2 separate regions of the Homo sapiens genome follow, and region 2 is linked to region 1. Evidence: promoter capture Hi-C in human tissues and cell types (Jung and others, 2019). All regions are on one chromosome and are shown on one strand. The core of a region is centred on a gene start or on the middle of the fragment in contact, and the rest is flanking DNA. Distances in the headings are between cores, read along the strand shown. Region 1 overlaps CYP11A1 (cytochrome P450 family 11 subfamily A member 1). Region 2 holds the start of EDC3 (enhancer of mRNA decapping 3).

Region 1 (5,483 bases), core at 1,896-4,395:
AGAGTGTGACCAAAACCTAGGGCCTCAGTGCCACTCTCAGTTACCATCATTTTGGGTTTCTGGTCTCAGCATGTCATTTATAGGTTATGGTGTCCTCATGGTTGCATATTTCTTTGAGCTCCTGTTATTCCAGTTGAAGAGAGACCATATGACATTCTAGAGATGGCTCATGCAAGCATTTAAAACCTTTGAGAGCATACAGCTCGTCAGGGAGACCATTATTATGGCTATTAGGAGGATAATACCAAGAATTTGGGAGTATACTCCTTACCCAAGGTCCCCATAAACCAAACCTCCTAAAATCAAATGGATCTAAGAATGAGCTAGATACAGTTTACTCACGGCTGGGTGAGGTGGCTCACTTGAGGTCAGGAGTTCAAGATGAGCCTGGCCAACGTGGTGAAACCCCATCTCTACTAAAATACAAAAATTGGCTGGGTGTGGTCACGTGCACCTGTAATCCCAGCTACTTGGGAGGCCAAGGCAGGAGGATTGCTTGAACCTGGGAGTCGGAGGTTGCAGTGAGCCAAGATCACGCCACTGCACTTCAGCCTGGGCAACAGAGAGAGACTTGACTAATCAATTTCTTTGTCAGTCTCCTACCACTGAATTTCTATAGTCTTCATTTGATGTATTTCTGTATAGGCCACAAGTGCCAGCAGCTGCACAGATACTTCGCTGTTTAGCCAATTCTATTATAACTTTCACAAGAGAATTTAGAGTCTGTAGCCTTTAGAGTAGAATTTGCTATGGAACCTATCATGAGGGATACATTTCTAATCATTGCTTCTTTTACTTTAAACCATGGAAAAAGGACCTAACAAATGATGCCCTTTCAGAAGAGTGAAGGACTTCTGGCAATGTTCTCTTTAACCCACGATGTGGGTTATGTGGAGTGAATCAATTTTTTGTTTTTGATTGATTATGAGCTAACACATCTACCATTAAAGTTTCTTACATACATTGGGCCTTTATCCATGTATAAGGCTGGCTGCAAACTCCTTCACAAATAAAAATGTTCCCCATAAGTGCACATAACAGACCCCTTTTCCACTTCTATTGTTCGTAGAAGGCATAAGCAAGAAAAAATATTCAAAAATAAGAGTTTCATGATAGTAGAAGTCTTAATCTGTGAACTTGGGAAAAGCTGTTCACATCAATGATGTCATCTTCTTCTTGGGAGAAATTTCCCTAGTTAGTTTTACCTTAAGCATTCCAGTGGGTGCACAGCTCCAAGAGCATGGAGGGGCCCTTCTCAGTTGTGAGATTATGAACCCAAAGTTCAAGGTCCTGAAGTTTTGTTATAGTGTAGATGGCAAGGACAGTCTTTCTCTGATGTTTCCAGCAGATTCAAACCATAAAAAGCTTTTTTTTTTAATCTGGTGAAAATACACTGTAGCATAATAATCTACTGTTATAACATCAGCCCTCTTGCATGGGAAAGCTTTTCTACAACCAGAAAACATGCATGGAAAATAACAATGGAATGAAATCCCTTTATAAAATGTTTAAATGGCTGACCAGAAGACCAAATATACCTGAAGCTTTAATTGTTTTCCTAGGAATATGGGATCAAGCATTGGTTATAAACAATTTTTTGTTGTTATTTAGTTTTTATTTCATAATCATAAACTTTAACTCAACTCTGCAGTCCAGCTAGGCATGGAAGGGAACTGCAGCGAGAGCACAAAGATTCTAGGATACTGCGAGCAAATGGGGTGGAGGGTGCTGTCCTGAGCTACAGAAGGAATGGTCTGGTGGTTAAGATAAAACACAAGTCAAACTTATTAGAGTTGTCCACAGTCAGCAATGGTGATCTTCTTCCTGGTCTTGCCATTCCTGGACCCAAAGCGCTCCGTGGCCTCCACAATATTCATGCCTTCTTTCACCTTGCCAAAGACCACATGCTTGCCATCCACCACTCAGTCTTGTCAGTGCAGATGAAAAACTGGGAACCGTTTGTATTGGATCCAGCATTTGCCATGGACAAGATGCCAGGACGTGTATGCCTTAGGATGAAGTTCTCATCATCAAATTTCTCCCCATAGATGGACTTGCCACCAGTGCCATTATGGCATATGAAGTCACCACCCTGACACATAAATCCTGGAATAATTATGTGAAAGCAGGAACCCTTATAACCAAATCCTTCCTCTCCAGTGCTCAGAGCATGAAAGTTTTCTGCTGTTTTTGGAATCTTGTCTGCAAACAGCTCAAAGGAGACGTGACCCAAGGGCTCGCCGTGACTGCGATGTCAAAGAACACGGTGGGGTTGACCATGGCTGATAGTACAGGGCTCCTGGTGGCAGTGACGGCATCTGCAAAGCGACAGGTTATAAACTATTTTAAACAATTTCAGTATTAGCTGGTTTAACATGAAAGTCTTTTCTTGATATGTAATTAATTTTTTGTTGTTGTTGTTTTACGTGGGTTAGTAGCTTTATACAAGAAAATTTGGTCATTTTTGTGGTTTACAATAACTTAACATAATTATAATTGTGATTGGTAACATATACTTAGACATTAGAATTTGAGAAATCCCATACAATTTTGGAATATATTATTCACAAAAATATAACCTAAAGAAGATTTAACATCATTTTGTCAATCCCATGTACCTAAACATGTCAAATAATCCTGTTTACCTCTTTTCTGGATGTTTTCAGGGGCCCTCTGATTCATCTAGAAAGCCAGGCATTAGGAAAGACAATTTTGAAACTGAAGTTTGATTTTGGAATTCCAGATTACCGTAAACTATTTATTTTGCCAAAATGATGACTCAGAAATTTTAAAGAAGCAAAAACCTTTTGTAACCTTCCACACACACAAAAAAACCCCCAACACTTTCTACTGTTCTTATACACCTTGCATGTAAAACTGTTTCTAGTAGTCTTAATTGCATGTTATAATGGCAAATTTGTTTTTTTTGAGACAGAGTTTCACTCTTGTTGCCCAGGCTGGAGTGCAATGGCATGATCTCGGCTCACTTCAACCTCTGCCTCCTGAGTTCAAATGATTCTCCTGCCTCAGCCTCCCCAGTAGCTGGGATTACAGGCAGGCACCACCTTGCCCAGCTAATTTTGTATTTTTACTAGAGATGGGGGTTTCACCATGTTGGTCAGGCTGGTCTTGAACTCCTGACCTTAGGTGATCCACCTGCCTCGGCCTCCCCAAATGCTGGGATTACAGGTGCGAGGCACTGTGACTGGCCTATAATGGCGAATTTTAACATAAAACCTGGTAAGTTAGGCCAGGCGCGGTGGCTCACTCCTGTAATCCCAGCACTTTGGGAGGCCGAGGCGGGTGGATCATGAGGTCAGGAGTTCAAGACCAGCCTAGCCAAGATGGTAAAACCCCATCTCTACTAAAAATAATAATAAAAAATTAGCCAGGTGTGGTGGCGGGCGTCTGTAATTCCAGCTACTCAGGAGGCTAGGGCAGAGAATTGCTTGAATCTGGGAGATGGAGATTGTGGGTGAGCCGAGATTGCGCCACTGCACTCCAGCCTGGGGGACAGAGTGAGACTCTGTCAAAACAAAAACAAAAACAAAAAAAACTGGTAAGTTCTGATAAAGTTTCTGATAAGGTTTGACTACTTCCAGCACAGCTAGGGGCATGGCTAACTCCACGTGTCCCCAGGCCTTACCTAGCTGGAAAGCAGGCAAGTTAAACAATTTTCAAAAGCCAAAGGAGTAGCTTATGATGTTAAAGGATTTAGCAAACCTAGTATTTGAACATAATGTACACCACATGTTTACATTTTGAAGACAACTGTATTTTTCCAATAATCTTGAAAACTGTCTTTATTTCCCAACTATTGCTAAAGTCACATGAACTAAAAGGCATTACACTTTCTACTTTTCTGACAAAATATTTGACTTAAGCTTTTATTATTATTAAACCAATTAATTTAAAATCTTACAGAGGAGATATACGTGACTTCTACTTTATATTTAACCAGTTTGCATAGAGGGAAAGAGCCCAGAGACTGACTCATAAGAAATTCTTATCCTTTCACCGGCATGCCAGATTTCAGGGTTCTCTCTTTCACGCGTGTCCCTGTGAAGAGACCACTGAACAGGCTTTGTGTGAGCAATAAAGCTTTTTAATCACCTGGGTGCAGGTGGGCTAAGTCCGTAAAGAGAGTCAGCGAAGGGAGATAGGGGTGGGGCCGTTTTATAGGATTTGGGTAGGTCATGGAAAATTACAGTCAAAGGGGTTGTTCTTTGGCAGGCACGGGCAGGGGACACAAGGTGCTCAGTGGGGGAGCTTTTGAGCCAGGATGAGCCAGGAGAAGGAATTTCACAAGGTAATGTCATCAGTTAAGGCAGGAACAGGCCGTTTTCACTTCTTTTGTGATCCTTCAGTTACTTCAGGCCATCTGGGTGCATACGTGCAGGTCACAGGGGACATGATGGCTTAGCTTGGGCTCAGAGGCCTGATATTCCTGTCTTCTTATATTAGTAAGAAAAATAACATAAAATAGTGTTGAAGTGTTGGGGCAGCAAAAATTTTGGGGGTGGTATGGAGAGATAATGGGCAATGTTTCTCAGGGCTGCTTCAAGCAGGATTAAGGGCAGTGTGGGAACCTAGAGTGGGAGAGATTAAGCCAAAGGAAGATTTTGTGGTAAGGGGTGATATTGTGGGGTTGTTAAAAGGAGCATTTGTCATGTAGAATGATTGGTGATGGCCTGGATGCAATTTTGTATGAACTGAAAAACTAAATGGAAGACACAAGGTCTGAATAAGAGAAGGAGAAAAACAGGTATTAAAGGACTAAGAATTGGGAGGACCCAGGACATCCGATTAGAGAGTGCCCAAGGGGATTCAGTGTAATTACTTGTTTGGTTGGTGAGTTTTTGGGCTCTATTCTTGACAGAGTCCTTTTTTTAAGTTGGAGGCTGAGTTTGGTGAGGTGTGTTTTTAAAAGACCATTAGTCCGTTTTACCTTTCCTGAAGATTGAAGACGGTAAGGGGTATGAAGGTTTCACTGAATACCAAGAGCCTGAGAAACTGCTTGAGTGATTTGACTAATAAAGGCTGGTCTGTTATCAGACTGTATAGAGGTAGGAAGGCCAAACCGAGGAATTATGTCTGACAGAAGGGAAGAAATGATCGTGGTGGCCTTTTCAGACCCTACGGGAAAGGTCTCTACCCAACCGGTGAACGTGTCTACCTAGACCAAGAGGTATTTTAGTTTCCTGACTTGGGGCATGTGAGTAAAGTCAATTTGCCAGTCCTGGGCAGAGGCAAATCCCTGAGCTTGATGTGTAGGGAAGGGAGGGTCCTGAGGAGTAGTAGACTAGCAGATGGAACCCTGAGAAGTGATTTCCTTGTGGATAGATTTCCATGATGGAAAGGAAATGAGAGGTTCTAAGAGGTGGGCTAGTGGCTTGTAACCTACATGGAAGAGGTTATGAAATGACGACAGAATAGAATGGGCCTGTGAGGCTGGAAGGAGATATTTTCCTTGGTCTAAGAAC
Region 2 (5,483 bases), core at 1,158-3,657, 340 kb before region 1:
GGTGGGCAGATCAATTGAGATCAGGAGTTCGAGACCAGCCTGGCCAACATGGTGAAACCTTGCCTCTACTAAAAATACAAAAACTAGCCAGGTGTGGTGGCGGGTGCCTGTAATCCCAGCTACTTGGGAGGCTGAGACAGGAGAATCACTTGAACCCAGGAGGCAGACATTGCAGTGAGCTGAGATCGTGCCACTGCACTCCAGCCTGGGCAACAGAGTGAGACTCCGTCTCAAAAAAAAAAAAAAAATTATCTAGGCAAAGACCTTGCACCCTTCATAAAAATTAACTCAGAATGGATTGTAGACCTAAATGTAAAATGGAACACTATAAAACTCCTGGAAGACAACACAGGAGAAAACCTAACTGATCTTGGGAATGGCAATGACTTTAGGGCAATACCAATAGCATAATCTGTGAAAAATATAATTGATAAGCTGGACTTCATTAAAATTTAAAACTTCTGCTCTTCAAAAGAAGAATGAGAAGACAAGCCACAGACTAGGAGAAAATATTATAAAAGACGTATCTGATAGAGGACTGTTATCTACAATATACCCAGAACTCTTAAATCACAACAAGAAAATAACACAATGTAAAAATGGGCAAAATACCTGAATGAACACTTCATCAAAGAAGATATACACATGGCAAGTAAGTATATGAAAAGATGTTCAATATCATATGTCATTAGGGAATTGCATATTAAAACAATAAGATACTACTACACACTTACTTGAACGGCAAAATACTGACACCACAAAACGCTGACAAGGATGTGGAGCAACAGAAACCCTCATTCACTGCTGTGGGAATGCAAAATGATGCAGCCACTTTGAAAGGCAGTTTGGTAGTTTCTCCCAAAACTAAATATACCATCCAATCCAGCAGTTGCACTCCTTGGTATTTACCCAGATGAATTGAAAACTCATGTCTACACAAAAATCTGCACATGATGTATAGCGGCTTTATTCATAATTACCCAAACTTGGAGGCCACCAAGATGTCTTTCAGTAGGTGAATGGATAAACCGCAGCACATCCAGACGATGGAATATTATTATTCAGCACAAAAAAGAAATGAGCTATCAAGCCATGAAAAGACATGGAAGAACTTTAAGTGCATAAGTGAAAGAATCCGATGTGAAAAGGCTGCATACTGTATGATTCCAACTATATGGGATTCTGGAAAAGGCAAAACTATGGAGACAGTAAAAGGAGCAGTGGTTGCCAGTGGTTAGGGGACTGAGAAGGATAAATAGGCAGAGGACAGAGGATTTTCAGGGCAGTGAAACTATCGTGTATGATACCATAATGGTGGATACATGTCATTACATATATGTCAAAACCCACAGAATGTGCAACACCGAGAGTAAACTCTAATGTAAACTATGGACTCTGGGTGATAATGATGTGTCAAAGTTGGGTAATCAATTGTTACCAAATGTACCACTGTAGCACAAGATGTCCATGAGGGGACAAGTTGTGTATGTGCCTGTGTGTACAGGGGATATATGGGAACTCTGTACTTTCTGTTCAGTTTTGCCCTGAACCAAAAACTGCTCTATAAGTGTTCATTAATAACAGTAATTTTAAAAGACAAGGACCCCTTCTGACCTAGGGAATCTCTGGTGATGGAGGGGGAAGGGTGAAGCAGTCCCCTAGAAAGTGTAGATTTTACAAAGTTCTTCAACTGATTTTGTAGAGCTAGGTTTGGAACTGCTACCCTACTCTATGCTATTCGCCCAAGTAGTGGTTCCCAAACCAGGTGTCAGGCTTCAAGGCTGTGCAATATTCCTCATTACACGGTCTTGGCCCTAAACGCATGCTTTCCCGTCTCCCCACAAATCAAGACTCTAAAATGCCAGGGGTAGAAGAGCGGCACTTTCCTGTGTACTGAGTATGGGGGAAGGGAGAGCAGTCAAGCACGGACTGGCTGATTTTAACCCCCAAAAGGGCTGAAGCTGATACGCTTTGAAGATCGACCACGGCAGGAATATCTTGTTTTCTTTAATCCATCAGGGGGTTGTCGCACTTATTAAGTCCCACAGCTGCAGTTTAGCACGGAGGGGCTGTCACGTCACCAGGCCTCCCTGAAAGTCCTCCGCTCCAGCTCTGCGATTGGCGCTGGGGTAACAGGAGGGGAAGCGGGTGCTTTTCATCGAGCCTGCAAGAGGGGGGCCCAGGCATCGAGGCTGGGGAGTCGTGGGTAGAGCCCCGATTCCAGCCAAGACGCCACAGGACATAAGTAAGCGTGGAGGGCAAAATGACTACCCAAGCGCAATTCTGTAAGGCCGAAGGGACGTTCTTCCAACCTCTTAAATTTCCCGGGTGCCACGCCCCTCAATTGACGGCCCTGGATTCCAAGGTGTCGCGCCGGAAGTGACCTCACGGTGGTGGCGTGGAGACGTGGGGGCGCTTCCGGCAGCGGCGGCGGTGGTGAAGGCCGATGCTGTGGGGGTGGGCGTGGAGAGAATTCTTCTGTGGGTCCTCTGGTGTTGAGTGGTCGGCTTGGTGTGGTGTGCGGAGGAGCTCCAGGCCCGTCGGCGCGGAGGTGGGAGCGAAGGGAGGCTACTGGTTTGTGGACGGTCGTGGGAGGGGGCTGCCGGGGTTGCTTTAGGCTTCAGAGTTCCAGGCCTCGTAGACCTTTATAGAGGCAGGCAGGCAGGCAAGAGCTGGGGGCTTCATCGGATGAGCAGGGGACCACGTACTACGGGCGGCCCCAGGAGTTTGGTTTGAGGTGGAAGGCTGAGGACTGCAGGATTCTAAATAGTATGGGGATTGTGTGGGGAGTGAGGCATTAGCTGCTTGGGCCCTTAGTCCAGCCTTGTTGGTGGCTGCTGCAGTTCTTTGGCTCACTCACTCTGTTCTTCGTGCCTCAGTTTCCCTTTGCATAATGAGATACGGTGGCAGAGAAGAACGCCAGTGCCACATCCATGACTGATAGCTTGAGGACGGAGATGAACTGGAGGGTAGAAAAAGAGGATGCCTGAGAAATTTATACCTACCAGGTCACATCTTCGAATCCCAGGAAGTTATCCCTGGATTCATTTCTGCCTTTGATGCAAGTCTGTGGTTCTTTTCAGTACACTTTGTGTGATATTGATTGTATGTATCAATACTTGACTTGCTGAGTGGTTAAAGTGTTTTGGTTTGTGGGAGGCATAGTCCTTGTTGGCTTGGTCAGTTAATTTTCAGTTAATCTCCCAATAGCAATTGCTTCGCCTAACTCTTCAATTGGGAGATTAGTTGAAAATCAACTGACCAAGCCAACAGTCTTCTCCTGTGGTTACAGGTGAGGAACTCGCGACCCAGAATGGTTTTTCTTCTCTTCCTTCGCCACAGACCAAACCGATTTCAGTCTGCTGTCTCAAATACAGGTCTTCACCCCACCAAAACAGAAATGGCTGTCTCCAAGCAGTTTAGTATTTCAACTGGACACCCAGATGGATCCTAATCTTTTTTTTTTTTTTTAATGAATGGCAGATTACGTGTACTGAGCACAAAATCCTCTTAGCTAGTTTCTCTGTATGATGTAAAAACATGACATTTTGTTTATTACCAATTTCTTGGTAGAGCCTCCTTGGCATAGGGCTGTGGGGCTAGAAAAGTGTCTCAAAATTTTTTACCTGTGACCCACAGTTAGATATATTATACATCATGACTTATTGTGCCCCTGCACACTCAGTGTGTACACACACACACACACCAATGAAAAGTTTACTTACCCTTTCTACAGAAGATGCACTCTAAAAAAATATTGGTTGCAACTCACTAAATTGAGTCTGACCCCTAATAGGTCATGACGTATAGTTTGAAAAATATTAAGGCCGGGCACTGTGGCTCACGCCAGTAATCCCAGCACTTTGGGATGCTGAGGCGGGTGGATCACCTGAGGTCAGGAGTTGGAGACCAGTCTGGGCAACGTGGTGAAACCCCGTATGTACTAAAAATACAAAACTTAGCTGGGTGGTGGTGGGTGCCTATAATCCCAGCTATTTGGGAGGCTGAGGCAGGAGAAACGCTTGAACCTGGGAGGGAGAGGTTGCAGTGAGCCAAGATATGCTACTGCACTCCAGCCTGGGCAACAAGAACTAAACTTCTCAAAAAAAGAAAAGAAAAGAAAAATATTAGACTAGGGCCGAGTGCAGTGGTGGGAGGATTGCTTAAGGCCAGCCTGGGCAACATAGCAAGACTCTGTCTAAGAAAAACAACATTAGAAAATGTTTAAAATCCTTGCCATTTGTGAGATTCTGTAATTAATACAAAATGGAAGATGTATCATTTTTCTTTTCTTATCCAGAGAAGGGCTTACTAGAGTTCTCCTAAATTCAGCCAGAACAACAGGACAGGACATCCAAATTGTGGCTCAAAGGAGTGTAGTGACCATAATGATAGTGTGTCAGAATTTTAGCAAGGCATTTATGAAGTTTTTGTTTTTTTTTTTGAGATGGAGTCTCACTCCATTGCCCAGGTTGGACGGAGTGCAGTGGTGCAATTTCTGCTCACTGTAACCTCTGCCTCCTGGTTCAAGCGATTCTCCTGCCTCAGCCTCCCAAGTACCTGGGACTACAAGCATGCACCACCACGCCTGGCTAATTTTTGTATTTTCAGTAGAGATGGGGTTTCACCATGTTGGCCGGGCTGGTCTCGAACTCCCGACCTCAGGTGATCCACTCACCTCAGCCTCCCAAAGTGCTGGGATTACAGGTGTGAGCCACCGCGCCTGGTCTTACTGAGTCTTACTATAACTGAGTGGGCGAGATGGAGGAATTTGCCAGATTGTGGTAGTTAGATGGAGTCATGAGTTTGAAAATCTATGTATGGAGAGGTTTGATTTGTGGACACTACTTACAGCTGGAATTCCGGTGATCTAAACTGGGGTTTCATCACTTTCTTTATATACTTCATGTATTTGAGACCTTATCTAGAAGGTTTGCTTATTGGATTTGGTGCCTTTGTGAAGTAAAGAAAGAGTCATTTGGTTGGTGATTGCCAGAATGGGAAAAGATCTCAATATAATTTGCTCAGTGCTGTTTAATGAAATGAAGGAAGCATGTATAAATGTGAGAAATTGCGCTTGGGTCCAAACAAAATCAACTATACCTATTAGGGGAGGGTGGAGATGTGACCTCACAGGAGTTCTATAATAAAAAGATGTGATGTTTTAATCACCAATCAGTGGTGTGGTTAAGAAGGCTGTGAGAAGAACCGATGTGACCTGCATTAGTATATTGTATCAGGAAAATGCAAAATCTAGAATGAGAAAGGTTGCATCACTGGTAGGCTTGTACCTGGAATATTAGGTTTAGATCTAGATGTGCTAAGAGTAAATTTATGGGCAGAAGTCAAAAGTTTGAAGATATGGTGGTGTTGCTTTGGCATGAATGATTATTTTTCTCCTTGTCATTTCAGGCTTTCAGGTATAGGCTGGGTCACTAGTCTTAAAACATTTCTTCTTGAGAATGTCTAAAAGACTGTGGAAT

The links. The method cuts DNA at HindIII sites, captures the fragments that hold promoters and counts their contacts. A contact is called where the count stands out against the background at its distance.
Region 2: the fragment with the promoter of EDC3 here is called in contact with a fragment that was not itself captured in region 1 in 2 of the 25 tissues and cell types used here (dorsolateral prefrontal cortex and hippocampus).

The regions. Positions count from the first base shown.
Region 1 is chr15:74,358,349-74,363,831 of GRCh38, reverse strand. All of the region lies in intron 1 of CYP11A1 (cytochrome P450 family 11 subfamily A member 1), which reads left to right. It also overlaps the pseudogene PPIAP46. Among named protein-coding and RNA genes, the nearest start is that of CYP11A1, 6.6 kb to the left of the region's middle. The HindIII fragment of the contact is 5,215 bases long and covers 538-5,483 here.
Region 2 is chr15:74,692,948-74,698,430 of GRCh38, reverse strand. EDC3 (enhancer of mRNA decapping 3) reads left to right here and starts at 2,407. Exons shown (of 7, transcript NM_025083.5): 1 at 2,407-2,551. RefSeq lists an enhancer at 2,358-2,447. The HindIII fragment of the contact is 33,216 bases long and covers 1-5,483 here.